5 separate regions of the Homo sapiens genome follow, and all the other regions are linked to region 3. The links are contacts of gene promoters, found by promoter capture Hi-C in blood cells and fetal thymus (Javierre and others, 2016). All regions are on one chromosome and are shown on one strand. The core of a region is centred on a gene start or on the middle of the fragment in contact, and the rest is flanking DNA. Distances in the headings are between cores, read along the strand shown. Region 1 overlaps EYA3 (EYA transcriptional coactivator and phosphatase 3). Region 2 overlaps EYA3 (EYA transcriptional coactivator and phosphatase 3). Region 3 holds the start of PPP1R8 (protein phosphatase 1 regulatory subunit 8). Region 4 overlaps EYA3 (EYA transcriptional coactivator and phosphatase 3). Region 5 overlaps EYA3 (EYA transcriptional coactivator and phosphatase 3).

Region 1 (5,337 bases), core at 2,087-4,586, 210 kb before region 3:
AAACATTCTTAACTTCCTCACTTTTTTCTGTCATACTTGCCTAGCAAAACCACAACCCTGATTAAACCCAACTATCCACCTATTCTGTACTTATTCCCAATCACTTGTACATCGTGAGAGAAAAACACAAAATTGTGCTAACTGTTCCTAGTTTCTATTCATGATAAGATCTAAAACAGGCACTTAGTCCCCCTTCCTGGTATGTCTGATTTCCCAGCCTCTAAAATCATCTTAATTCCTTTATTCCCTCCCTCCTTGCCCCCTACCTTCTCCCTTTTCCCTCCCTTTCCTGCTATTTCCATTCACTCAGCTGTGGATCTTGCTCCCTAGTTCAAAGAGAGATTAGGAACATCTCCCTTCTCTCACCAAATCAACCTACTTAATCTGCTTCTCTTGGATATTGTTTATCTTTCCTCTGAAATTCCCTTGCTCTTATCGAAGGCTAACCTCTCCAGTTGTTTGAAAGAACCCATCACCTTCATCTTTTCCTGCAATTATCTCTTCTTTTACCTTCAGCAATTTTTTTACTATGATAAAATACACACAATATACAATTTACCATTTTAAGTGTACAGTTTAGTGGCACTAAGTACAATCACTTTGTCTTGCAACCATCACTACCATTCATCTCTAGAACTTTATTCATCTTTCCAAACTGAAATTCCATGTTCACTAAACAATATTCTCCACTCCCCCATCTCCAGCTCCTGGCAACCACCATTCTACTTTCTGTCTGCATGATTGTGACTGCTCTAAGTACCTCACAGAAATGGAGTCATACAGTATTTGTCCTTTTGTGATTCATCATGATGTCTTTAAGGTCTATCCATTTGTAGCATGTGTCAGAATTTCCTCTTTTTAAGGCTCAATAATACTCCATTGTATGTCTGTTCCGCATTTTCTTTATCCATTCATCTGTTGTTTGTGTTGTTAATAGTTCTGTTGAATGAGAAGGAGGTATTTGTTGTGCCACTTTATGGACTTGGATGTTGTTGGGTTTTTTTGGTCATTTTATTTTAGAGCAGTTGTTTTTTCATGGTGTATTCATTGTTAAGCAAAATTTATGTTTATATAACTTTGAAAATAATTATATTTTGAGGCAGTATGTCATTTCTCTAAGGATAATAATTTAAATATTTAACAAGTGCTAGAGTTAACTCACTGTCTTGGTGCTGTTGTTTCTATTTATTCTCTAGATGCTCAGTTGAGTATGTAGGGGATGTTGCTATAACATAATATTCTAGGACCATTGGGTTTTAGGAACTGGTCCAGTGGATACTGGATCATAGCAATATCACCAACTTCTAAAATATAAGATCTACAAATAGTCTTCAACAGTGGGTATAACAGTGAACCTCATACTTAACCAGGTACATGTAGAAGTCAAACTAGTTATTGATGTCAGGAAAATTCTGGTTCAGTTTTATGCCCTTCCCCTGGTAATTCTATGTAAGTAGGTGTGAGATGGGGTCCAGAAGTCTATTTTTATTAACTATTCAGGTAATTATAATAAATCACCCAGTTTGGGAAACTGACACAACTATTCCATATAATTTCTTGCCCTTACCCTTCAATTTCCATAATCACATCTTAGTACATTAAGTTCTATTACAAAAATATAAACATTTGAGTAACAAGATAAAAATGAACCTTACTTGGGGATTTAGCTTTAAAATTAATTACAAATGAGGAAAAATTATTTGAACATTCAAAATATACCATTAAAGCTGGACACTGTGGCTCACACCTGTAATTCCAGCACTTTGGATGCTGAGGTGGACGGATTGCTTGAGACCAGGAGTTTGAGACCAGCTTGGGCAACATGATGAAACCCTATCTCTACAAAAATTACAAAAATTAGCTGGGTGTTGTGGCACATGCCTGTAGTCCCAGCTACTTCGGAGGATGAGGTAGGAAGATCACTTGAGCCCGGGAGGTCAAAGCTGCAGGAGCCATGATCGAGCCACTGCACTCCAGCCTGGGTGACCGAGTGAGACCCTGACTCAAAAAAACAAAACAAAAACCAACCAAACAAAAAATATATACCATTTAAAAAAAACCCTTATTATACTTGAATATTAGAAGTCAGTTTCAGAAATGATACGAGAACTTTATAAATTTTGTGCTATATATTTTTTATATAAGCAACATTTCTTTTTACAATTTTGCTGTGTAGAAACTACTCTTACCTTTGATTAGTCAGCATTATCTTTCCAGATATATAGAACCTCTGGTACAGTGTCTTCCACCTCTCCCTAGAGAGTAGAAGAACAAAGCAAGCTTCTTTCTAGGGTGCATGAATGTAGGAATGATGCCTGGGCTTTGAAGAAGTTGTAATATAATAACAGTTACAGTTAAAGTGTGCTTACTGTGTTCTAGCTTTGCTCTAAATGTAAACTTATTAGTCCTCCTGACAGCCCTATGAGGTAGGTTTCATTTTTATTCTCGTTGACGGATGTAGAAAGCGGGGAACAGATAAGTTCAGTGACTTGTCCAAGGTCATAGGGCTAGTTATTGGCAGAATAGAATATGAACTTGAGCAGCCTCTGACTCTAGAATCAACACTCCTAACCACTGTGCTATAATGGGACATAATAACTGAAGAATGAAAAGTAGAGGAGATGGAAAAGAGAGAACATTTTGAAGAATGAAAGTTAGAACAATCTTCATTCCAGAATTTCTGTGGAATCTCCCCAGCATTAAACTATCTAACATAATGACTTGTCCTCCCAGTTTATGTGACTTATCATTCTCAATTTCTCTTAATTTTCCTTATAAGTTAAAAAAAATGATGTTGCTTAGTCCTGGCTATATAACAAATAGAAAATGAGGTGTTTGTGTTTTATTTAACTGGGAGATAAGAGAAATATAGTAGAATGAATCTTAAGGGTTTAGAACCCCCGCTTGGAAACAAACGTATAATTTTTGTTTGTTTGTTTGTTTGTTTGTTTTGTTTTTGAGACAGAGTCTCACTGTGTCGCCTAGGCAGGAGTGCAGTAGTGCCATCTCCAATCACTGCAACTTCTGCCTCCTGAGTTCAGGTAATTCTCAGGCCTCAGCCTCCTGAGTAGCTGGGACTACAGGCGTGCACCACAACGCCTGGCTAATTTTTGTATTTTTAGTAGAGACGGGGTTTTACCATGTTGGTCAGGCTGGTCTCAAACTCCTGATCTCAAGTGATCCGCCCGCCTCAGCTTCCCAAAGTGCTGGGATTACAGGTGTAAGCCACCGCACCTGGCCCAAACGTGTAATTTGAAAACACTTCTCATATGATTATGGTTTGTAGCTGATCAAGAACCACTGTCTGAAATCAAACGTCTCCCTACCTTCCTGTGGTACTTTGGGAGCAAGGTAACAGAGCACTGTTGCACAGAATGGTGACTGTAATAAATAATATAGCATTGTATATTTCAGAATTGCTAAAAGCATAGAACTTAAGTGTTTTCACGTTTTTTTTTTTTTTTTCACAAAAAAGCAAAAGGTGTTTTATATATCAAAACATCACATTGTACCCCATAAACATATAATAAAAAGTGGCAGAGCAATGTTTTACCATATGGTGTTAAAGAAAAATCTGACTTGCCAGTGACTTAGCTGGAATTTCTGAATTATATAAAAACTAAAGGGATCTAGAGATATAAGAAAGAACAGTAGACTGGGCGTGGTGGCTCACACCTGTAATCCCAGCACTTTGGGAGGCTGAGGTGGGTGGATCACAAGGTCAGGAGTTCAAGACCAGCCTGACCAACATGGTGAAACCCCGTCTCTACTAAAAATACAAAAATTAGCTGGGCATGGTGGCATGCACCTGTAATCCCAGCTACTCAGGAGGCTGAGGCAGGAGAATTGCTTGAACCCAGGAGGCGGAGGTTGCAGTGAGCCGAGATCGTGCCACTGCACTCGAGCCTGGGTGACAGAGTGAGACTCCATCTCAAAAAAAAAAGAAAGAGCGGTAGAATGCTGAGGGTACTAGCCCTGGCCCGAGCTCTCTTCAAGTAGTTGTTAAAAATCAACAATAAGGATATCACGAAGATTTACTTTGCCTCTTACTTATATAGCCTAGGAGGAAATGGGTTTGAACTCATCACTTTTTAGCAATGCAGCAAATCAATCAGGGGCTAATGTATTCATTTTGGTTCTCCCAGTCAAGTAAGCAATCCAGATGTCAGTGATCAGAAGCCTGAAACATCAAGCCTTGCTTCAAACCTTCCCATGTCAGAGGAAAGTAAGTACCATATTCTGTGCATGATTGAACAGATATTCCTATAACTAGTAATGCTTTTCTTATAGAGTTGGTTTTTCGTAATTGCCTTGTTTGTCCCAAAATATCCTGAAGGCTCTCCCATCCTTGTTTTTGTGTGTGTTTATCCTTGAGCCCTCCTGTAAGCTTTATTGACAGACCAGCTGAGAAAAGATCACATGGAGTCCACTCACCCAAGGAGTCACACGCCGTGATTTTATTTTTGTTTTGAGATTGGATGTTTTAAAGGTAATAGTGTCTTACAGAAAATCAGAGACAACTATACTTAACCATATATACTTCCCATGTATATTTTTTAAAAAGGTGTAACTTTTTTTTAAAAGGTGTGTCTTGAGTTCTATATAGTGTTTCCTCAAAGGTGATTCTATTCTGGTGGTTCTCAGACCTTTAGCCTACATAAGAATCATCTAGAATACTTGTTTGTAATGTAGAATTCTAGTTTCACCTCCAAAGATTATCATTCAGTAGATCTGATGTGGATAGGGAATCTGCATTTTTGACAAGTTAGCCAGGTGATTCTGGTCCATTGGGAAACTGTCCATTTTGTGGAAAACCACTCTAATTTGTAAAGTGTCTCCTCTAATTTCTTGAATTTCCCACTCATCCCCAAGAAAAAGACCTGTTCCCTAAAATCTTATACTTTACATACTTCAGGGTCAGGAAGTAAGTTGAGTATTCTTGCTCCTTCCAAATAATTTCCTTTTTTCCTTCAAATACTTTGGTTCAACTGGGCATGGTGGATCTTGTCTGTAATCCCAACACTTTGGGAGTCTGAGGCAGGAGGATCACCTGAGGCCAGGAGTTTGAGATCAGCCTGGGCAACAAAGTGAGACCTCCTCGCTACAAAAAATAAAATAAAATAAAATAAATAAAAACTTTGGTTCATTTGAAGTCTACATCTATACCTTCCCCTACCTTTCTATTTTTACTTTAGACTGTCATCCTATTCATTCTGTTCTTTATTTTTTTTTTTATGTTTTTTGAGATGGAGTCTTGCTTTGTTGCCCAGGTTGGAGTGCAGTGGCACAATCTCGACTCACTACAACCTCCGCCTCCCGGGTTCAAGTGATTCTCCT
Region 2 (5,818 bases), core at 579-3,078, 190 kb before region 3:
ACCAACATGGAGAAACCCCGTCTCTACTAAAAATACAAAAGTAGCCGGGTGTGGTGGCGCATGCCTGTATCCCAGCTACTCGGGAGGCCGAGGTATGAGAATCGCTTGAACCTGTGAGGCGGAGGTTGCAGTGAGCCGAGACTGTGCCATTGTACTCCAGCCTGAGCAACAAGAGTGAGACTCTGTCTCAAAAAAATAAATAGAAATTTAAAAAAATGGAAGAGTCATGAAAATATCCCTTAAACTTCACTAACCACCATTCTTATTTGTTATCTGTTAGAACATTTTTTCCTTTGGATTGGCTAACCCGGTTTCCTTCATTTTGCTATTAATGACAATTGCAGGTATTTATGAAGTGCTTACTGTGCTCTTGACATTTTTCTAAGCAGTGGATAGATGTTGCACACGTAATCCTCACAACAACCCAAACCTCATTTTAGAGAGGGAGAGCCTGAGGCACAGAAAAGCTAAGTAGCTTATCCATAGTCACAGTATTAGCAAATAATTAAGGCAGGACATTAGCTGGGCATTCTGACTCCAGAGCATGAGTACAATATTTATGCTTTTCAGTATTGAGGTCATAGTATCAATATCAACTCTCCCATAATTGAGAACCTTTGCTAACAAATATCTAAATTCACTTCTCCTCCCTTTTTGTGGTTAATCTATTGGCCCATTTTATTGTTCATTAGCACAGGGTAGAAATTAAGGCAGAAGTTAACCATTAAGTTATCAATTTTTGCCATTTATTCTGATGAAAAAATTGTTAGGAAAACAATGGGCTAAAATGAAACGTGGGTATTATTGGTATTAAATTACTTAAGTTCACCACTATCAATATTACTCTCCTCGCTCCTACTTTTCCCTTTCCTTTTAGCATGGATAGTGAATGTTAGCTATCCAGGGCTGTTTCTTTCCCCCTGCATAACTACCCAATTTTTTTAAGTGTTCAAAACACCCCAAGCATTCTGCAGTTGACAGCAGCCCATCCTCCCTGGGGGAGTTAGGGAAATTATCTCAAAAACCTAATCTGCTTCTGGCTTGATTAACTCTAAGCAGAACCTTTTCTTTAGTTTGTACTTCAGTGGTACCATAATGAGAAGAGACTGCCTTTGTTTGCTCATAAAAATGTTTTGAATGAGTAGATCTGACTTCTGTAGTATCATCCTTTTCCTAGAGTATCTTGTGACTATGTGGCCCTATCTTTGGTCATTTTCTTCAGCTGAGATGTTTTAATTGGTTAAATAATATTCAAGTGGCAAAATTAATTTCAGAAATTTCAAAATTAATTTTAATTATATATATATTTTGAGACTGAGTCTTGCTCTGTCGCCCAGGCTGGAGTGCAGTGGCATGCTCTCGGCTCACTACAACCTTTGCCTCCTGGGTTCAAGGGATTCTTGTGCCTCAGCCTCCCGTGTAGCTGGGATTAGAGGCACCCACCACCACGCCCAGCTAATTTTTGTATTTTTAGTAGAGACAGGGTTTCATCATGTTGGCCAGTCTGGTCTCGAATTCCTGACCTCAAGTGATCCACCTGCTTCGGCCTCCCAAAGTGCTGGGATTACAGGCATGAGCCACTGCGCCCAGCCTAATTCAATCTTTTAATGAGTGTCTTTGTACTCTAGTATCATTGGTAACACACAATAATCTATCTCTGACCAGGAGATTTTTAAAAAAATTTTTATTAATAGATGTTTTTGTTTGTTTGCTTGTTTGTTGTTTTTTGAGACGGAGTCTTGCTCTGTCACCCAGGCTGGAGTGCAGTGGCGTGATCTCAGCTTAATACAACCTCCACCTCCCGAGTTTAAGCGCATCTTCTGCCTCAGCCTCCTGAGTAGCTGGGATTACAGGCACATGCCACCATGCCTGACTAATTTTTGTATGTTTAGTAGAGATGGGGTTTCACCATGTTGGCCAGGCTGGTCTCAAACTCCTCACCTCAAGTGATCCGCCTGCCTCGGCTTCCCAAACTGTTGAGATGACAGGTGTGAGCCACCGCGCCTGGCCTAGACTTTATTTTTTATTAATAATTTTAGATTTACAGAAAAGTTGAGCAGACAGTACAGAGAGTTCCCATATATCCCTCCTCCTGCACAGTTTCCCATTATTAACATCTTACGTTAGTATATTACACTTGTTACAATTAGTGAACCAGTATTAGTATGTTATTATTAACTAAGTCCGTTGTTTATTCAGATTTCCTGTGTTTTTATATGATGTCCTTGTTCTGTTCCGGGATTCCATCCAGGATACCAAATTACATTTAGTTATGTCTCCTTAGGCTCTTCTAGACTTTGTAGTTTCTCAGGCTTTTCCTTGCTTTTAATGACCTTGACAGTTTTGAGGAGTACTGGTCCAGGTATATTTTAAGATGCCCCACTCTTAGAGAATTTATCTGATGTTTTTCTCATTATTACGCTGGGGTTATGGATTTTAAGGAGGAAGGTCACAAAGGCAAGGTGCCATACTATCATCATTATTTATGACTGTTGATGTTGACCTTGATTACCTAATTGAAGTAGTGTTTGTCAGTTTTCTCCATAAAGTTACTCTTTCCTCCCTTTCTGTACTGTATTCTTTAGATAGAATTCACTATGTACAGCCCACAGTTAAGGAATCATGCTGCCCCTTCTTTAGGGTAGAATATCTACATAATGTATTTGGAATTCTTCTGCCCAGATTTGTCTCTTCTCCCCAGTTTGTTGATTTATTCAGTCATTTTTTTGTGGACTCCTAGATATTTAATTTATACTTTGGGTTATAATCCAATACTACTTTATTTATTTTGTTCCAGTTTGGCCACTGGGAGCTCTTTCAGTTGGCTCCTATGCCTTTTGACATACTCCCATTTTTTTAGTTTTTGGTTTTCCCCCCCCCCCCCACCCAGCACTTTCTTACTTCCTGGCACTACAAGATGCTCCAGGCTCATCTTGTATATTACTTATTCAAGTCCTATTATCAACCATTTTTTTTAAGGAATCCTGGTTCCTTTTATTGGAAAAAATGGTATTCAAAACCAAGATTTGGGCTTCCAGCCTGGGCAACAAGGCAAAACCCCATCTCTACAAAAAATATAAAAATTAGCCAAGTGCAGTGGTGCGTGCCTGTAGTCCCAGCTACTTGGGGAGGCTGAGGTGGGAGGATCGCCTGAGCCTTAGGAGGTCGAGGCCTCAGTGAGCTGTGATCGCACCACTGAACTCCAGCCTGGGTAACAGAGTGAGACCCTGTCTCAAAAAAAAGATCTGAGCTTGAGGGGTGCTAATTGCTACTGAGGTGTCAGGTGACATTTATTTTAGGCTTTCTCAGCTGACAGAGCAAACAAATATATGTAGGTATACTAACCTATGTAAATACACATATCTATAAATATTTCTGTATGTCGTAATCTGTATCTGTGTTGAGTTAAACATGAATTCTTACTGATTTCTTGAGCTCTGATCCATTATTACATAGATCATTCTAAACCCTGTCCCTTATTGATCTGAAAATCTCCACTCCAGCAATGAGAATCTTTTAGGCCGGGCGCGGTGGCTCATACCTGTAATCCCAGCACTTTGGGAGGTGGATGCAGGCAGATCACGAGGTCAGGAGATCGAGACCATCCTGGCTAACATGGTGAAATCCTGTCTCTACTAAAAATACAAAAAATTATCTGGGTGTGGTGGTGGGTGCTTGTAGTCCCAGCTACTTGGGAGGCTGAGGCAGGAGAATGGTGTGAACCCAGGAGGCGGAGCTTGCAGTGAGTCGAGATCGCGCCACTGCACTCCAGCCTGGGCGACAGAGCGAGACTCTGTCTCAAAAAATAATAATCTTTTATTAGGAGATTTTTATTATTTTGATTTACTAAGCTCCTTGTGTGGAGCAGTGCTTGCACATAGTAGGCACTCAATAAATATTTGATAAAGGATTAAGTGAACGAATGACCCACTTAGGCAATCAGTTTTAACCAAAATATGTACAGCTTCTACTGGATCAGGAATTGTCAGTTATATTAGTCACATAATGAGAGTAAGTTTTAGGAACCCACCTGTCAGCCTTTAGCAGAAAATAATGATTTTAGGCTGGGCGCGGTGGCTCATGCCTGTAATCCCAGCACTTTGAGAGGCTGAGGTGGGCAGATCACTTGAGGTCAGGAGTTTGAGACCAGCCTGACCAACATGGTGAAACCCCGTTTCTACTAAAAATACAAAAATTAGTTGGGAGTAGTGTCAGGCACCTGTAATCCCAGCTACTCGGGGAGGCTGAGGCACGAGAATCGCCTGAACCAGGGAGGCAGAGGTTGCAGTGAGCCAAGATCATACCACTGCACTCCAGCCGGGGTGACAGAGTGAGAGTGCATCTAAAAAAAAAAAAAGAAGAATGATTTTGCCCTTCACACTTAGTGCACACAAGATAGATGTATATGAATCCCACAAATATTTATTGACCATCACCTGCTGTATGTCAGGTGCTTTGCTAGATGCTGGAGATTATAAGACAGCAGGATTCTGCCTTTTTGGAGCTTACAGACTAGTGGGGTGCGGGGGAGAAAACAAGTGAGTAAATACATAACAGATTTTGAACAGTGCTCTGAAAAAAAAATTGATCACTGTGATTAAGAAAACAGAAAAGGTCTTGGTTTTAATAGGTCAAAAAGACCCTCTTTGAGGAAGTGAGTCATGCTGAGGAGCCATCATGCTGGGAAGGCAAGGGGGTTGGAGAGAACAGTCTAGGCAGAGAGAACAATATTGCAAAAGTCCTCAAATGATAAAGAGCTTGTCCGGTTTTGAGTAACTTAAAGAAAGACAGTGTGAGCAAAGGAGGTGAAGTGACATGATCTAAAATTAGAGAGGTGGGTAAAAACTAAATCTTGCACAAACTTTTATGTGCCATTAATGCTTGAATTAAACTTTTAACTTTGTAGCACTATCACTTGGTGCAGCTGTGCCACTTACCATTCTGTAACCGTGGTCTTCTGTTCAAAGCTTTATCTGTATATTGTCTGTTTTAAGCGGACATCTAGTGGGGCCTGGTTCTCAAAAGTGGTGTCTTTCAAGTTTTTGCAGCTCCATTGTCAAAACAGGAGTGAAGGCTGTCCAAAAACAGTTGACCATGCCATTAGCATTTGGAGAGCTAGCAGCCTTTAGATACATAATAATAGGAGCCAGCACTTGAGTTTTATTTGATTCTCTAAATTTGTAGTTTTTGTTGCATAGTTCATTGTTGCTGCTTTTGTTTTTAAACCTGCAATTGAATATTATTTTTATTCACACACACACACACACACACACACACACACACACACACACACACACACGATGATCTGTATTTTTTTAAAAGTGCCTGGCTTTTTAGTCATAGCTGTATGTGGGGTAGGGCAGGCAGTGGTTGTATACATTTTTAGGCGAGTTTGCCTTGGGTTCTATGGTGGTTATAAGAGCCTAAAAAAATTACTTAATTATTGACTAACTTCCCTCACTAGAATTTAAACTCCTTGAGGGCCAGGACTTTGTCTTACTATTTTATCCTTCAGTGGCTGAAATGGTTTCTAGGCACATAGTTGACCCTGATATACTTAATGGGTTTGCTGAATGAATGAGTGGCACATGTTAGAAATAATTTGGCTTAGTTGGAGAAAAAAGTGTTATTAAGCCCTATGAACTTTCTGGGTCAGCAGACCAAGTTCCCCTATAATAAAAGCCAACTATTGCTCAGAGAAATTTGTGATTTTAATACAGTACTTGTTAAAAACTCAGAGTTATCAACTAGCTAATCAAGCCATTAAACTTTCTAGCCGGGATATAATAAGAGTTTATGGCTAGTTGTTTTTAAGGTC
Region 3 (5,708 bases), core at 2,108-4,607:
TGCAAACTAAAGATTTGCTAAATTCTAGTAATAAAACAGATCCCTATATGTCTTCAAGCTTTGTGCTATTCAGCAACAAATATTTTGTAACTGTGGAACAATCTATAGCAAAAAAGGTTTTACAGATATTTTAGCTAAATTATTTCTTTGAATAATCTTGAGGTTTTAAATCTTTAAGAGAGAAGAACCCATGACAAAGGGGCTCTCTGTGACTGGCTGAGTCCATGATGTATTCATAACAGGAGAAATCATTAAAACTCGTGCATGCCTTAATACTTTGCAAAATACCTGGTTATCTCTACAACATCTCAAAAGTGACAACAATATATTTACAGAGTAACCTTCAAAAGATCTCAGATAGCTTTTCAATCTAGCAACCGTGGAACTGCAACATTTTTATTAAATACCAAAAAACCACAATGAAAAAACTGCATTCAATAATGGGGCCTTGAACCTAAATTCTAGCTGAGCAAGCAAATATAAAATTGGTCTAATATGGGAGACTCACAGCTACATGGTCATAGTGGGCTTAATATCCATCTCTTGGTAAATAAATAATACCGTAAGGATTATAAAAAATTTACGCAAACTAATAGCTAATAAAAACTCATGTTCTCTTGAACTCCTATGTGGTGTTCTCTCTAGAGGCTTGTATAAAAGCTGGAATTCTGCTAAACTTTTATAGTACTTAATTCAAATATAATTATGTAATTTTTTGGTGTGATTCTGTCTCTCCCACTGGATGACTTGAGGACAGAAATTATGTTGGTTTTGCTTACTGCTGCAATCTGTATGCCAAGCACAGTAACTGGCACATAGTAAACACTCAATACATGTTTTGAAAGAATCAATTAATGAATTTCACCACAATTCCATTATCTTTTTGAGTAAATGTCTTAGTTTACCATACTTCTTATAAGGAGTTGGGCCTGAATGTCTTAAAATTAACTTAGAAGTTAAACTCAATATATATCATTCACTTTCTTCAGTTACTGCATACCTTGCACGGTTTACACAACTCCATGTACTCAGGGAGAGGGAATTAACCAAGCTAACAGGGCTTCCAGTTTGACTGGGGCCCACAGGACCCATGACCTATTAAAACCCTTCATTTGAGAGAAGTCACAAAAAATTGAGTGTCTGTGGTAGACATAAGCTTTAAATGTGTGATGTCACCATGTGCTTTTAACAGAAAAAAAAAATCAGGATGAAAGAAAGTAGCATTGCTGGAAAACAAAGCACAGGAGAGGGGGTGGAAAAGTGAGTCACTGGCAAAAATCTTTAGTGTGGCAGCCAAAAAAGTAAGACATGTATTTCCATACCTCAATTAGTTTGTCTCCTTTGACTACATCCAGATGTAAACCGGGAGGGGGCTTACCTGCCCTGAAAAATAAAAATAGAAAAAAGCATTTTCAGGATGGGTTTATAAATGCTATTTACAACCATTGTCCCATTCAACATTGCAGCTCTCCTACCAGCCTATAATTAGTTCATGTTCAAGCAGAAATGTCATCCACTTCACTGTTATTACAGCTCCATTCTACGTTTGACACTTACTTCCCTAGTGATTCAATTGCTCTGCAACAGATTTTAGTAGATCTGTATTTAGAGCAGCACCAAGAAACCTATATTTTAACACTGGATCTTCACCTCAGAGAAAGAACTGCATAGAGAGTGCAAGTACGATAGCTGGGGTGGTCTAGTCACCTGGAGTTTGAATCTGAAATCCACCCCTACTCCAATATCATATAAAGACCGAATAAATTAGTTGCTGTTTGGGGCTCATCAAGATTAGTCTCATCACAGAGTAAGCAAAGAGTACTGTCCTGAGCTCTGAAACCAAATCAGAGGTGCATAATTAGGGAACTAGGGCAATTCAAAATCATGCCCCATGAAACCAGGTACCAAATGAATATGTTACCCTTGAAACAGGTCTTTCTACAACAGCATGATTAGGGGACGTTTCCTCTATATCCTACAGCCATACCATTCAAGGGAGACTCATATGTCAAAGCACCTAACGGTGCCTGGTACCTACCAGATCCTAAGGAAAGGGTAGGTGATCTCAAAAACAGTGCTTTCTAACTATGTTTGCTATCTCGGCCCAAATTTGAAATCAATACAGCGAGGGATCAAAATGGATACAGAATTTGTAGACTGAAGCAACTACTACAAAAGTGCAAAGCGATCCAGAAAATAGCCACACATTTGCTTGCTTTTTGGGTTTGCTAATTTGAAGTTAGAAAAAAGAACCACCTCACTAGAACCTTTAGATTTGCACATGAAAAAACGTATCCTTGTCTAGCTAACTGAAGATTCAACACAGTCATCTCACAATCCTGCCCCAACCCCTCCTCTATGGAAAGGACAATGCACCGGACAAAAGGCCATTTTGTCCAGGAAAAAGGAGGAATGTTACATCCAAAACATACTTTCTGAATTCCTACTATGTGCCTGACTCAGGCCTAGGAGCTGGGAATACAAAGATGCAGTCTTTGCCCTTGAGGATGGCAATACAACGGGAGACAGAGACAAGCAACAAACAATACACTGCGATGAGCTACAGCAGAAAAAAACTCTTAATTCAGAAGCGTTTCCTTGTAAGGTAATTCATATTTATTCAACTTGTACCCTACTCAAAGACCAAATTAAATTATTTCATTATTCCCAAGAACTTTCGAAGGGATAAAAAGGGTTCATGCCAACCATTACTAATGCCTACTAGTGCCACAGACTGGGAGCTCCCTGAGGGCAGGGATGGCGCTAACCTACCCTCGTATTCTCTGTGGCAGACAGACAAGTGCCGCACGAGGGATGCAGCAACCACAGAGGGATGCGGGGCTTGGAGGTAGGGTTGGGGCCGGGGCTGGCTCGAGCGCGCTCGGGACGTACAGGAAGGGGCCAGATGCGATGCTCCACGAGAGCACCAGGCACTCAGTCAAGAGTTGGGCGTAAGTTCGGGCCAAGGCCTCGAAGCGCTCCGGCGACTGGCTAATCGCTCAAAGGGGCTGCCTAAGTGAGCGCCTTTGAGCCCCCAACCCCGGGTTTCTTCAGTTCCTGGGCCTGGGCTCCAGGCTCTCGGTTCTTCAACACGTCGCCCGGCCCGGTGCAGCAAACAGTTTTTCCTCAACCATTCCGGGGTTTCTGAGCCGTTCGGCTCGCAGCAGAAAAGTAAAAAAAGAGCCGCCCTTCCAGCCCAGGCTAGCTCCGGCCGGGCCACTCTAGCCCTGGCCGCCCCGCCACTCACCAGGTTGGGCAGTCGAACAGCGGGAGGCTAGAGCCGGAGTTCGCGGCTGCCGCCATCTTGCGTCTCCCCCTCCCATTTGGCGCGCCCTAAGCACGCCGGGAAACTGGAAGACCGAGAAGGGAAAAGCGGCATCCCAGCAGCCTGTGCGTACGCACGCTCACGCACGCCCGTACGGGGGGCGGTGCTTCTAGTGGGGACAGAGGAGCTTTTGGGATTTTTTTTTTTTCAGCGTTTGTGCGAGTTGGCCGTCTCTGGAAGTCTCCAGTGGTTAGGGTTTTCCTTGGCCAGGAGGTGTCAAAGGAAAAGGGGCTTTGTAGGGAGGGGAGTCAGTCTTTCCCTACGTCCTCCTGCAAACGCTTCTTGGCTCTAAAATCTTGGGACTAAGCCGTGCGCGATGGCTCACGTCTGTAATCCCAGCACTTTCGGAGGCTGAGGCGGGCGGATCACTTGAGGTCGGGAGTTTGAGACCAGCCTGACCAACATGGTGAAACCCCGTCTCTACTAAAAATACAAAAATTAGTCGAGTGTAGTGGCACATGCCTGTAATCCCAGCTACTTGGGAGGCTAAGGCAGGAGAATCGCTTGCACTCGGGAGGCAGAGGTTGCAGTGAGCCGAGATCGCGCCATTGCACTCCAGCCTGGGCAACAGAGCGAGACTCCGTCTCAAAAAAAAAAAAAAAAAAAGTAAAGAAAGAAAAAATCTGGGGACTACATCCTCCTCCAGAGTTTAGGTTAAGACCGTCAGCCTTTTGCCCTCAAAGCGGAGAAGCTAAAGGGCAAAACTCGGAGATTGGAGTGATTATTGTTTCTCTTCAGCCCTTCTCCAAAAAGTGGCACCCTACTCACTTTTTTCTAATTCACGTTTAGGCCTGTAGATTGTCAGGGAATCTGCATTAGGGGTCACCTAGTCTGTTTATGAAAACTCTGGACAAGCAGGAGCCAGGAGCAGGTCCAGTCAGAAAGCAGGGGTCCAAATCATCACTGTGCTTGGCTCAAATGGTTAATTTTTTTAAAAAGGATTTTTTGCTTTTGGTTATAGGGCAAGGAAGCATAAGGATTGCTCGCTTGCCCTAGATCACCAGCTGGTTTTAAGAGACCATTAGCAGGGCCTCTGGTTTTTTATTTTTTATTTTTTTATTGATCATTCTTGGGTGTTTCTCGCAGAGGGGGATTTGGCAGGGTCATAGGACAATAGTGGAGGGAAGGTCAGCAGATAAACAAGTGAACAAAGGTCTCTGGTTTTCCTAGGCAGAGGACCCTGTGGCCTTCCGCAGTGTTTGTGTCCCTGGGTACTTGAGATTAGGGAGTGGTGATGACTCTTAATGAGCATGCTGCCTTCAAGCATCTGTTTAACAAAGCACATCTTGCACTGCCCTTTATCCATTTAACCCTGAGTGGAGAGAGCACAGGGTTGGGGGTAAGGTCATAGATCAACAGGATCCCAAGGCAGAAGAATTTTTCTTAGTACAGAACAAAATGAAAAGTCTCCCATGTCTACTTCTTTGTACACAGACACAGCAACCATCCGATTTCTCAATCTTTTCCCCACCTTTCCCCCTTTTCTATTCCACAAAACCGCCATTGTCATCATGGCCCGTTCTCAATGAGCTGTTGGGTACACCTCCCAGATGGGGTGGTGGCCGGGCAGAGGGGCTCCTCACTTCCCAGTAGGGGCGGCCGGGCAGAGGCGCCCCTCACCTCCTGGATGGGGCGGCTGGCCGGGCGGGGGCTGACCCCCCCCCCACCTCCCTCCTGGACGGGAGGGCCTCTGGTTTTAATGGCATTGTCTGTTCAGCAGTTACCTGGGCAAGTATGTATTTTATATGGATCATCTCACTTAATCCTGACAATACTCTTGAGTTAGGTATTATTATAATTCCAGAGGAGAGGCTTAGAGAGATTGAGTTACCCAGCTTCACCCTAGAACAAGTGGAGTGGGATCAAAAACCTAAACCTATATGATGCCGAAGGCCATGCTCATGAGTCACTATTCTCTCTTACACTTTGATGTTGGTATAATTATATTTATTATTAGCATGCAACTGATGCCCCTCTTTTTCACTTTTGTAGACGCGTTGGGAGGATTATCTGACCAGTTTTTCCTTTTTTAAATAAATCAATTGCTAAGTTCCTGTTCATCCAGAAAGAGGCACTGCTCAGCAAGTTGAGGAATCTATGATGAAAGTAGTTCTTTTCTTGCTTCCATGCTACTGGTTCTGTAGAAAATCAGCCTATTCAAAAGATTTTTGCCCTTGATGAAGTCTCCAGCCCTCAAGATTTAACTGCAATATAACTTAGAAGGAGTGAGAAGATCAAAAAAGTAACTGCAATATAACATTAACTTGGATTTTAAGATTATCAACTCTTAGGTAGACTGGAGAAACACCTTTTCCTCTGGCCTTTAAAGCACAATAAACTTATCCAGCAAGGATGGCGACTAATCAGATCACTTATCAAATGG
Region 4 (5,689 bases), core at 2,209-4,708, 150 kb before region 3:
ATATTCAAACAACAGAATGCTATATTGCAGTTAAAAGTGGATTAAGTAAAATTACATATACTCATAAGGATTAATATTAAAAACAATAGGCCAAGCGCGGTGGCTCACGCCTGTAATCCCAGCACTTTGGGAGGCCAGGGTGGGTGGATCACCTGCCTGGCCAACATGGTGAAACCCCATCTCTGCAAAAAATACAAAAATTAGCTGGGCATGGTGGTGTGCGCCTGTAATCCCAGCTCCTCGGGGGCCTGAGAATAGCTTGAACCCAGGAGGCGGAGATTATAGTGAGCCAAGATTGCACCACTGCACTCCAGCCTGGACAACAGAGCAAGACTCTGTCTCAAAAAAAAAGAAAAACTGATGAACAAAAAACATTGCAGACAGATAAATGTACAGTATGTAATATCTATATAAAGATTTAAAATATTTACATTTTAGGAGTACTTGAAAAGTTTTGTTCTGTAATGTCTTGATTTTTTTTTTTTTTTAATCTAGAGCAACTATAAGGGTCAGGTGGAGTGGCTCACGCCTGTCATCCCAGGGCTTTGGGTGGCTGAGGTGGGAGAATCACTTGAGACCAGGAGTTTGAGATCAGCCTGGACAACATAGTCAGACCCCATCTCTACAAAAAAAATTTTTTTAATTAGCCAGGTGTGGCCAGGAGCCGTGGCTCATGCCTGTAATCCTAGCACTTTGGGAGGCCGAGGCAGGTGGATTGCCTGAGCTCAGGAGTTCAAGACCACCCTGGGCATCACGGTGAAACCCAGTCTCTACTAAAATTAGCTGGGCATGGTGGCGGGCACCTGTAGTCCTGGCTACTTAGGAGGCTGAGGCACGAGAATTGCTTGCGCCTGGGAGGCGGAGGTTGCAGTGAGCCAAGATCACGCCACTGCACTCCAGTCTGGGCAACAGAGAAAGACTCTGTCTCAAAAAAAAAAAAAAAAAAATTAGCCAGGTGTGATGGCTTGTACCTACAATCCTAGGTACTCTGGAGGCTAAGGTGGGAGGAGCACTTCAGCCCACAAGTTTGAGGCTGCAGTGAGCTATGATTGTGCCACTGTACTTCAGCCTGGATGGCATAGCAAGACTTTGTCTCATAAATAAGTAAATAAATACAGCAACTGTGAAGTGTTAAGATTTTACAAAGCTTCGTTGGTGGTAGGCATTTTTTTCTTTTTTTTTTTTTTTTGAGACAGGGTCTCACCAGGCTAGAGTTCAGTGATCACGACTCACTACAGCCTCGACCTCCCTGGCTCAAGCAACCCTCCCACCTCAGCTTTTCGAGTAGCTTGGGATTATAGATGCACACCGCCATGCCTAACTTTTCCTATTTTTTGTAGAAATGGGGTCTCACTTTGTTGTCAAGGCTGGTAATTCTCCATGCTTTTTTGTATGGTTGAATTATTTCATTTACAAGGGATTGGGTGGAAGGGAACATATATGAAAGCGCTCCCTTCAGATATTGTTCCTGCTGCCGGTTGCTTTATGTATATCATAGGAACCCAGAGCACTCACTGAGCCTCCCACATCTGAAAGACAGATTTTCTGTAGTGCTTATTATACTGAGACCTGGCACCCGCAGGCTCATCAGGCTAATGGAAATGATCTCATTCCCTCTGTCAGTAAGTGTGCTTATTTGGTATTTTTCCTCAGTCTCAGTTCATCCAGAGCTAATTTGCAAAGCTGCAGTGGGATCTGGTGCTATGGTAACCACAGTAGGAGGCTTGAGGCTTTTCTTCACAGAACTGTGAAATGGGAGCAAGGAGAAGAAATACTTTTTCACTTCCTCTGAAATGATAGCAAAATATGGTTCTCTTAATGGCCATTCTGTGATTTGGGGACATTAAAGAGAATTCTCAAAATAATTTCTGAAAATGTCAGAAGTTTTTTTTGTTTTGGGGGGTTTTCTTGAGACAGGGTCTCACTCTGGTACCTAGGCTGGAGTGCAGTGGCACGATTATAGCCCATTGCAACCTTAACCTTCCCACGCTCAAGCGATCCACCCACATCAGCCTCCTGAGTAGCCAGGACTTCAGGCGTGTTCCACCACCATACCCAGCTAATTTTTTAATTTTTTGTAGGGAAAAGGTCCCACTGTGTTGCCCAAGCTAATCTCAAACTCTTGTGCTCAAGTAATCCTCCTGCCTTAGGCCTCCCAAAGTGCTGGGATTGCAGACTTGAGCCACCGCTCCTGGCTAGAAATATTTTAATAGAGAAAACCCAGGGACTAATATTCTCCAAAGATTTGGCTGATCTTACAGTTCACCAGCTTCAATTGCTTGACATATGGTAAACTGATTAATCATTGGCCTCATCCTCCTGAACAGGAAAGCTCATATCCAGAAATGGAAGTATTTTACCAACTGTATTGGAGTGAGTCCTGTTTTCATGGAGCTGCTTCTTTACTTTGAGCTGTTAATAACTCTCTTGGCCTCTTAATCCTTTTAAAGGAGACATTACAGAGTATATTTCATCCTTGATCATTGCATGCCAGGACAGTGAAAATGTCTGTGTTCTTATCCTCAAAATATGAGTTACTGCCTTTGTTGAGTCTTACAAGAAAGTCAAACTGACTCACTTAAAAAAGTTTTTTGCTACAGACAGATCATAGTAGACTGTGCATCTGGTGGAGGTTGGCTTAGTTTGTAAAGCTGTAATGGGTGAAATGGAATTAAAGAACTCTTCAACACCATGAACATAATAAGAATTTATTATTAGTTGAATGGTTTAATGTTTGAACTGAATTGAGGCATAAGACCTGGACTACAGTCCTCCACTGAATCATTTGTGAGATTAATATGAATTTACTCAGCAAACATTGATTGAATCCCTCATATGAATGTAAGGCATGACAATTCTATTGTAAAATATTAGCACTAAAAGAGACCCAAGTGCACCTAAGCCAAGCCTTGTATTGTAAGTGGCCAGCTGAGCCCAGAGTGATCTAGTGTCTGGTCCAGTTGACTAGTCCGTCTGTTTTGAAGTGCCACTGGGTTAAGGATGTCAAAGATTTGCAGTTACATATCTGCACAACTTCTGTGCCAAGTAGGACTTCTGCGTATGGAAGTATAAGTTCTGGCCAATTATGTTACAGTTATCTTAGATTTGTATATTTATATATTACAGTGATTTTCCAGCAGATGGCAGTCAAATGTCTTGAGGAAGAGGCAGCTTTATCTTATTTACACAGGAACCCTGGTGCTAAGTCACTCTGTTGGGCAAGGGGAAAGAACAAGAAGGTTAATAGAGCAGGATGAAGAAGAAAGCCAAAGTTAGGACCTTGTTTAACTGAAGAAGGTGGCAGAAGCAGGGAGATAAAAAGAGCAAGGGATATAACTTCTTTTTATTTATACAAATAAAGTATCTTTCCCACAGCAGTATGATCTGTGTATGTTTTAGGTGTTGGTTGCAGATGGGATTTGAGTTTTGATACACTGCCATGTTTCTCAAAACTGTCTGCAGTTCTGAGAAATGGATTTAAATCACCCATTTCCCAAGGTCAATTTCAGTGATGCAGTATCTTGGTTACAACTACAAGGTATAGTAAGTAAGGAGGTTCCAGATATGACAAATGTTGATGCCATATTTATTGGTCACTGTTCTCAGTTCTATTCTGGGGCTGTTCTCTCACTGAAAGACGTAAGGCCTATACCCAGGACTGTTTCTGGGAAATGAAGAATTGGAGGGAAATGGCTTTTTGTTTGTTATTGTTTCTAACAAGAAATCAGGGCCTTGTGTTTTCACTTCTCTTTTCTACCCTAAAACATTTCACCCCAAAAATCATTCATTCATTATGACACAATGACCAGAGCCTAGATTTGGAGTCAGGGGCCCCAAGTTCTAGCTACTTGCTTGTTTGTGATCTAGGGGCAAGTCACTAAACCTATTAATCTTTCCCATTTATAGAAATTCCCTCACACTAAGATCTTAGGGACTTCACCCTCAACGTGAAGGTTAAAATAAGTTTTTGGGTTGTTTGTTTGTTTGTTTTGAGACAGAGTTCGCTCTTGTTGCCCAGGCTGGAGTGCGATGGCATGATCTCGGCTCACTGCAACCTCCGCCTCCCGGGTTCAAGCGATTCTCCTGCCTCAGCCTCCCCAGTAGCTGGGATTACAGGCACGCGCCGCCATGCCCAGCTAATTTTGTTTTTTAGTAGAGACGGGGTTTCTCCATGTTGGTCAGGCTGGTCTCAAATTCCCGACCTCAGGTGATTCGCCCGCCTCGGTCTCCCAAAGTGCTGGGATTACAGGCTTGAGCCACCATGCCCGGCCAAGTTATTTTAATGGCACAACTTCACATTCTTTGGGCAGAGGGTCTACTGGATCTCTAGCTCCCATCCCTACTCCCCAGCAAGCAAACTACATGGGCTGTCACTTAGTCCACCTAAGCACAGGCAGGTGAACCTAGCAGCAGCCCTCTTCTTTGGTTTTGAAAAGAAGAGAAGAGTATTCTAACAGGAAATTTCTTTTTCTCATCAGGTAAGGAGAGCTGCTTTGAGAGAATTGTGTCAAGGTTTGGAAAGAAAGTCACATATGTAGTGATTGGAGATGGACGAGATGAAGAAATTGCAGCCAAACAGGTAACCATGGTAAAGAAAAATAGTCTATGTGGTTGTACATCGAGTAATGAGAAAAATGGGAAAAACTACAAAATCTTAGCAATCTATTATGCATTTATAATATTTTCTCTTTCTTCCTCTCCCATTTTTCTTTAAAGAAAAAGAGGGTCTTTTTTTTCTCCAGATGGAGTTTTTCCTCTTAAGTTTTTAGATCCATCCCTTCCTCTTCCTCCCTGTCACTCAAGAATCTTAAAATCTTTAAGCCCTTCTACAGGGATCCCATCATTAAACCTGAGATGTGCCCCATCTTCCATCTTCAAAGACAGTGCCTTCTCAAGCATCAGACTTGACTGCAAAAAGGCTAATCATTCTTTCTTTTCCATGCTTCAAGTTCTCAGACAGTACAACCAATAGCTGTTTCTGTAGAGAAAGTCTTTCCTGCCTTTGAGCCCTGGAAAGATTGTTCTGATGTTAACCCCACCACTATACAGGTCCCAACTTCAGGTCACCCCTTCTTTTTTTCTTTTTTCTTTTTTTTTCTGTTTTTGAGATAGAGTCTCACTCTATCTCCCAGGCTGGAATGCAGTGGCACAGTCTTGGCTCACTGCAACCTCCGCCTCCTGGGTTCAAGCAATTTTCCTTCCTCAGCCTCCCAAGTGGCTGGGACTACAGGCACCCGCCACCATGCCCAACTAATTTTTGTATTTTTAGTAGAGACGGGGTTTCCCGTATTGGCCAGGCTGGTCTCGAACTCCTGACCTTGTGATCCGCCTGCCTCGGCCTCCCAAAGTGCTGGGATTACAGGTTTGAGCCACCACGCCTGGCCCAGGTCACCCCTTCTTAATATAGGAAACAATAGATGAAAGAGTCTTGGCTATAGAACTTAAAATCCCATCTGTGTCTCAGCTATGTGAATTTGAACAATTATCCTCTTTGAGTATCCTCATCTGCTAAATGGATCTGTAGAAGTTCTTTCCCTCCCTATCCCAATTTATTTTCTTCCAGCAACTCTATTTCTTAGACATGGAGGCATTGGGTTGCCAGCTAGAACCAACTGCCCTGATACTCTTCATCCAGTTAAGTGGAAACCTTAGCAACTATAATAAACTATGAGATTGGTAATCAGTTGGC
Region 5 (5,954 bases), core at 472-2,971, 240 kb before region 3:
AGGGAGTTAATACGTAGCATAAAAAGAATGTCAGGGAGCTCTCTGAGTCTGAATCTTTTCTGATTCTGAGGGCTGCCAGATTCAGAAGTAGCTCTTTGTTCAACTAAGCTCTTTATTCCTCTAAAGAAAAAAAAAAAAGGAATGTTATTTTTGGATTTTTAGGAGGTCCTTAAAGTGCCAATCCATACATTGAAAAAGAAATTTTGAGTTTAAATTTAAAATATTTAAAAACGTTAAGAACATGATGTTATATCATAAGATCAAAGTAATGTAACATAGGATAGAGATGTAATGAAAGAAAAGGAATAAGTAGCCTAAGGTAATAATATTAGGAATGTAATTTTTTTTTTTTTTTTGAGATGGGAGTCTTAACTCTTGTTGCCCAGGCTGGAGTGCGGTGGTGCGATCTTGGCTCACTGCAATCTCCACCTCCCGGGTTCAAGCGATTCTCCTGCCTCAGCCTCCCAAGTAGCTGGGATTACAGGTGCCTACCACCACGCTAATTTTTTTTATTTTTAGTAGAGACGGAGTTTCACCATGTAGGCCAGGCTGGTCTCGAACTCCTGACCTCAGGTGATCCACCTGCCTCAGCCTCCCAAAGTGCTGGGATTACAGGCATAAAGGAATGTAATTTTAAAAGGGAGGGTTTTATGCTCAATTCCACATAAAGAGGACAAAAAACTTCAGACAAGGGAGTTCAGAGTTTTGGATTCCACCACTGTTTCTGCTGCTTACAGGTTCATGAGGCAGTGCCTTCTCTTTTGTTTAATTTCCTCAACTTTAAAATAAGGATTACATTTAATGATCTGTGATACTCTATCCTTTGTAGCATCTTTTGTTATATATTTTCTTGCATTTCCAAGAGAGAATCGTGTCTGTCCAATAGAGTGAAACCAAATGTGAAGTCTCTTCCAATAGCAAATTCTTTAACTATTGGAAGTTCGTTGCTTTTGCTTAGAGCTGTAAAATGAACCAACCCTGAGTTTGTGTACAGTGTCTAAATAACTTCTTAGGAAAGAGATGACACAGCCAGAAAATCAAATGAATCTTTCTGCCTATACTGTTGTCACAAACAGGGTAAGATTTTTTAGGTAAGGCAAGATCACTGTGATTTGAAATGCTTTTCCCTCAAAACTGAAATTTTTTTTCTAATGGAAAAAGTTGGGGGCAAGAATGAAGAATTTGTGTCTAATTTTAGCTTAATGTCTTGAACATTTTTTATATAAGCATTTAAAAATATGTATTTAAACATTTTACTATACTTTTAAATGTAAGCTTTGTATCTGCTTTTGATTCTTATCAAATTATATGTAAGCTATTATTAAACTAACATAAAAACATGTATTCACCTTTTAAATAAGCTTGTATTGAAATAGTTTACAGTTACAGTGTAGTTAAACTTATTGTTCACATGTTGTTTGTTTCTCATTTTTCGTTTCTGTAGACAACAAACTTATACTATTTTTAAAAGTAGAGTTTGCTTCTTTCCCCCCTGTATGTAATTCTTGGGTGAGCACCTAAGAAAAATTATTCAGATTAGGCTGTGGCCAATCTTATGACCTCTTTTATACTTTATCCAGGAACAGTCTGAAGACACATATGATTTTACAGCTGTGCCTGACTGAATATGTCTTTATCTTCTCATAACCCAGATAACACTTGGTTTTATTGTTTAGATTTTTTTTGGTAGCTTAATATGTATGAAGTCGTATCTTAAGAATATTGCAATTTATATTTCTCCAATTAGTAGTGAGACAGTCTTTTTTCTCAAGTGCCGATTGAATCTCTGTGGTTTAAACTGCCTGTTTTTATCCTTTGACAGGTTTATGAGTTAGTCATTGTTTGCTCCCTAATAATAGATGATCGGGAAATGTTGAATTGGTTTGGTTTATATTATAAACATTGTTTTATTTATCATAATTCTTGCAGATATTGCCTGAATTTATAATATTTTAATCTTAGATTTGTTTTTTTCATTGCATGAAAGTTTATTTTACATAATTGGATTTGTCAAATTCTTGTTTATGCTTTCTTTGAATTGACCATAAATTCATCTCTTTTCCATAGTGAGATAAGCTTACTGTTCTGTTTTCTCCAAAGTTTTTTGAATGTTTAGTTTTTTAATATATTTATAATTACTTACAGCATATGTTGATGTGGATATTTTTTGCATGTTGGTATTCAGTTTTTCTGACAATGTTTTCTAAATACTGATTTTTTCTCCATTTATTTCATATTTTAAATACTTTATAGATTTGATCTTTTTTTGGCATTTCTAATCTCTTAGGGTTTTTTTTGTATTTTTTATTGTAAAATATACGTAAGATAAAATTAACTGTTTTAACCATTTTTAAGTAAGGTAGTACCCCCACCATCTGTAGTTTTGCTTTTGGCGGTTTTAGTTACCTTCTATCAACCTTGGTCTGAAAATATTAAATGGAAAATTTCACAGGCAAATAATTCATCAGTTTAAAATTGTGCACTGATCTGAGTAGTGTGATGAAGTCTCTCTCCATTTTGCTCTTTCCTGCCTGGGTCATGAATCATCCCTTTATCCAACATATTCATGTTGTAGACACTTCCCGCCTGTTACTCACTTAGGAGCCGTCTTGGTTATCAGATCATTTGTTGAGGTATCTGCAGTACTTGTGTGTTCGAGTAACTCTTTTTTGTTTTTTTTTTTTGAGACAGAGTTTCACTCTTGCCCAGGCTGGAGTGCAATGGCGTGATCTCAGCTCACTGCAACCTCCGCCTCCCGGGTCCTGGTTCAAGCAGTTCTCCTGCCTCAGCCTCTTGAGTATCTGGGATTACAGGCATGCGCCACCATGCCCAGCTAATTTTTGTATTTTTAGTAGAGATGGGGTTTCACCATGTTCGCCAGGCTGGCCTTGAACTCCTGACCTCATGATCCGCCCGCCTCGGCCTCCCAGAGTGCTGGGATTACAGGCATGAGCCACTGCACCCAGCCTGAGTAACTCTTATTTTACTTAATGGCCCTGAAGAGCAAGAGTAGTGTTGCTGGCAATACAGATACACCAAAGAGAAGTGCATTAAGTGAAAAGGTAAAAGTTCTCCACTAAATAAGGAAAGAAAAAAAATCATATGCTGAGATTGTTAAGATCTACGGTAGGGCTGGGTGTTGTGGCTCACACCTGTAATCCCAGCACTTTGGGAGGCCGAGGCGGGCGGATCATGATCCAGACTATCCTGGTCAACATGCTGAAACCCCGTCTCTACTAAAAATACAAAAATTAGCTGGGCGTGGTGGCACGCATCTGTAGTCCCAGCTACTCAGGAGGCTGAGGCAGGGGAATCGCTTGAACCCAGGAGGCGGAGGTTGCAGTGAGCTGAGATCTCACCACTGCACTCCAGCCTGGTGACAGGGAGAGACTCCATCTCAAAAAGAAAGAAAAAAAATCTATGGTAAGAACTAATCTTCTGTCCATGAACTTTTGAAGAAGGAAAAGAAATTCATGCTAGTTTTTCTGTCACACCTCAAACTCCAGGTTTTGGCCACACAGTGTGTGAAAACTGCTGAGTTAAAATTTATCATAGGTATATATGTATAGGAAAAAAGACAGTCTATATGGGTACCATCTGTGGGTTCAGGGGTCAACTGGGGGTCTTGCAGTGTATCCCCCCCTTGGAAGGGGAGACTACTGTATACAATTCAGTGGAATTAAGTACATTTACAATGATCTGCAGTCATCATCACTATTATCTAGTCTCTTTATTTAAGGTATTTTCACTTCAACCTGCAACATTATTGCTGTTACTCTTGGACAAATTGTTTAAATCTCTGAATCCCAGTTTCCTTGTTTGTAGCATGAGGATGATAATACCACCTGCGTCTTAGTTGTGGAGACAAAATTTGATGAGATAGTGAATATAAAAATTACTTGGAGCTGGATGCAGTGGCACATGCCTGTAGTCCCAGCTGCTTGGGAGGCTGAGGTGGGAGGATTGCTTGAGCCCAGGAGTTTGAGACCAGCTTGGGCAACATAATAAGACCCTCATGTCTTAAAAAAATAAAAAAAATAAAAACTAAAAACTTTGTGTATTATATATGCTCAGTAAATGATAGTTCTCTTATCTTTCCCACTATTATTGGTTTTAAAGAATGGTGTAGACAGGTTTTCCTTAAATGGCCTCTGTTGTTCTCCTTTCTCCCAAAATATTCATTATTAATTTTGTCTAATTTTCATTAAGAAATTTGTAGGTATTGGAGTAAACCTTTGTTCACTTCTTTTTTTTTTTTTGAGGCAGAGTCTCGCTGTCTCGCAGGCTCTATATATTTATATATATATATATAGAGAGAGAGAGAGAGAGAGGATGGCTTGCTTCCCTCTCTACCTAACTGCATGTTGAAAAATAAGCATTTGTTAATCTTAAACATCTGTCACATGAGTCATACACTGGGTTGTTTTTTATATACGTGTATGCACACATTATTTGAAATTGAAAGCAACGTCTCAATGGATTTGAAACTATTAAAGGCTATTGTCTAAAACGTGAAAAATGTATAACTAAAAATAAATGCACATATTAATATTTAAAGTGCATAATTAAGAAAACCTATTGGTGTTTTGTTTTTCTTGTATACCAATAATTAAGCCACTACTGTTGACACTATTTGGCTTTCTGTTTTAACATTGAATGAGTGAAAGTACTTCTTATATTTATGAATTTGCTGCTAAAATCTTGGCCAAAAAAAAAAAATTGTCTAAAATGTGTGGGTGAAAAATGTTAATCATGTATGTTTCTACCTTCCCCCCCAAAGTTGGACACCAACTATATACCGTAGGTTGCTTAAGGTGATTTCACTATTGTTAAATCAATAAGATAAAAATGAAATAGTTGTGTATATGCAACATTGTGTACAGAGGAGATAATGAATAGTATTAAACGTTCTCATCTTCCTTTACCTTTTGTTCCCTAATACCTATTCTACCTTTTAAAATTTCAGACTTCACTGCTCTTTGAATTCATAATTCAAATTTGCACATTATTATTATTGGAAAATCATATCTAATAAAGGTTTTAGGCCGGATGTGGTGGCTCACACCTGTAATCCCAGCACTTTGAGAGGCCGAGGCTGGTGGATCACTTGAGGCCAGGAGTCTGGGACCATCCTGGCCAACATGGCAAAACCCCATCGCTACAAAAATTAACCAGGTGTGGTGGCGCACACCTGTAATCCCAGCTACCTGGGAGGCTGAGGCATGAGAATTGCTTAAACTGGGGAGGTGGAAGTTGCGGTGAGCCGAGATTACGCCGCTGTGCTCCAGCCTGGGTGACAGAGCAAGATGCTGTCTCCAAAAAAAAAAAAAAAAAAAAAGGTTTTAGTTATTTCCCCCCCCAAAAAAAATTAAAAATAAAAAAAAATATATATATATATAAGGCACTTTGGAAAGTGTAGTAAATAAACTTAAAATACAATGTAGTCAGTGAGCAAATCTATGGACTACCTTTTTTCTATGTGGGACTGTGTCATAGATATCCAGTTAACTCCTGAATATCTCTGTACATACTTAGCTGCATGCAAATTCTCTTTCTAGGACCTATAAATCAGACTTTGCCTTACTTAGACACTTCTTTTGAAGTTGTAATTAAGAGTGATATATGCCTTGTTTTCATGGAAAACAATTTGACCTTTATTCTGTGCTTTTTTTTTTTTTTTTTGAGATGGAGCGTTAGTCAGTTTCCTGTCGCCCAGCCTGGAGTGCAGTGGTGCAATCTCGGCTCACTGCAACCTCCGCCTTCTGAGTTTAAGCAGTTTTCCTCCCTCAGCCTCCTGAGTAGCAGGAATTACAGGCGCGTGCCACCACGCCAGATTAATTTTTTGTATTTTTAAGAGAGACAGAGTTTGACCATGTTGGCCAGGCTAGTTTGAAACTCCTGACCTCAAGTGATCCGCCTGCTTTGGCCTTCTAAAGTGCTGGGATTACAGGTGT

Evidence for each region. The method cuts DNA at HindIII sites, captures the fragments that hold promoters and counts their contacts. A CHiCAGO score of 5 or more calls a contact.
Region 1: a contact is called between a fragment that was not itself captured here and the fragment with the promoter of PPP1R8 in region 3, in 3 of 17 cell types (M1 macrophages, M2 macrophages and M0 macrophages). The highest score is 9.3, in M1 macrophages.
Region 2: a fragment that was not itself captured here is called in contact with the fragment with the promoter of PPP1R8 in region 3 in 2 of 17 cell types (M2 macrophages and M1 macrophages); the score reaches 7.5 in M2 macrophages.
Region 4: a fragment that was not itself captured here is called in contact with the fragment with the promoter of PPP1R8 in region 3 in 4 of 17 cell types (M2 macrophages, M1 macrophages, M0 macrophages and 1 more); the score reaches 10.3 in M2 macrophages.
Region 5: a contact is called between a fragment that was not itself captured here and the fragment with the promoter of PPP1R8 in region 3, in 2 of 17 cell types (M1 macrophages and M2 macrophages). The highest score is 6.3, in M1 macrophages.

The regions. Positions count from the first base shown.
Region 1 is chr1:28,041,459-28,046,795 of GRCh38, reverse strand. It overlaps EYA3 (EYA transcriptional coactivator and phosphatase 3), which reads left to right. Exons shown (of 18, transcript NM_001990.4): 4 at 4,146-4,225. Among named protein-coding and RNA genes, the nearest start is that of EYA3, 44 kb to the left of the region's middle. The HindIII fragment of the contact is 2,107 bases long and covers 2,283-4,389 here.
Region 2 is chr1:28,020,149-28,025,966 of GRCh38, reverse strand. The region is part of intron 7 of EYA3 (EYA transcriptional coactivator and phosphatase 3); the gene reads left to right. Among named protein-coding and RNA genes, the nearest start is that of XKR8, 63 kb to the right of the region's middle. The HindIII fragment of the contact is 6,282 bases long and covers 1-4,969 here.
Region 3 is chr1:27,828,431-27,834,138 of GRCh38, reverse strand. PPP1R8 (protein phosphatase 1 regulatory subunit 8) reads right to left here and starts at 3,357. Exons shown (of 7, transcript NM_014110.5): 1 at 3,248-3,357; 2 at 1,323-1,383. The coding sequence starts at 3,303. LOC124903885 (a long non-coding RNA gene) reads left to right here and starts at 2,356. Exons shown (of 2, transcript XR_007065562.1): 1 at 2,356-3,390; 2 at 5,318-5,708. RefSeq lists enhancers at 2,308-3,092, 3,050-3,219, 3,093-3,878 and a silencer at 3,350-3,429. The HindIII fragment of the contact is 9,216 bases long and covers 1,159-5,708 here.
Region 4 is chr1:27,977,264-27,982,952 of GRCh38, reverse strand. EYA3 (EYA transcriptional coactivator and phosphatase 3) reads left to right here. Exons shown (of 18, transcript NM_001990.4): 17 at 4,479-4,579. Among named protein-coding and RNA genes, the nearest start is that of XKR8, 20 kb to the right of the region's middle. The HindIII fragment of the contact is 4,618 bases long and covers 1,150-5,689 here.
Region 5 is chr1:28,062,737-28,068,690 of GRCh38, reverse strand. All of the region lies in intron 1 of EYA3 (EYA transcriptional coactivator and phosphatase 3), which reads left to right. Among named protein-coding and RNA genes, the nearest start is that of EYA3, 23 kb to the left of the region's middle. The HindIII fragment of the contact is 715 bases long and covers 1,364-2,078 here.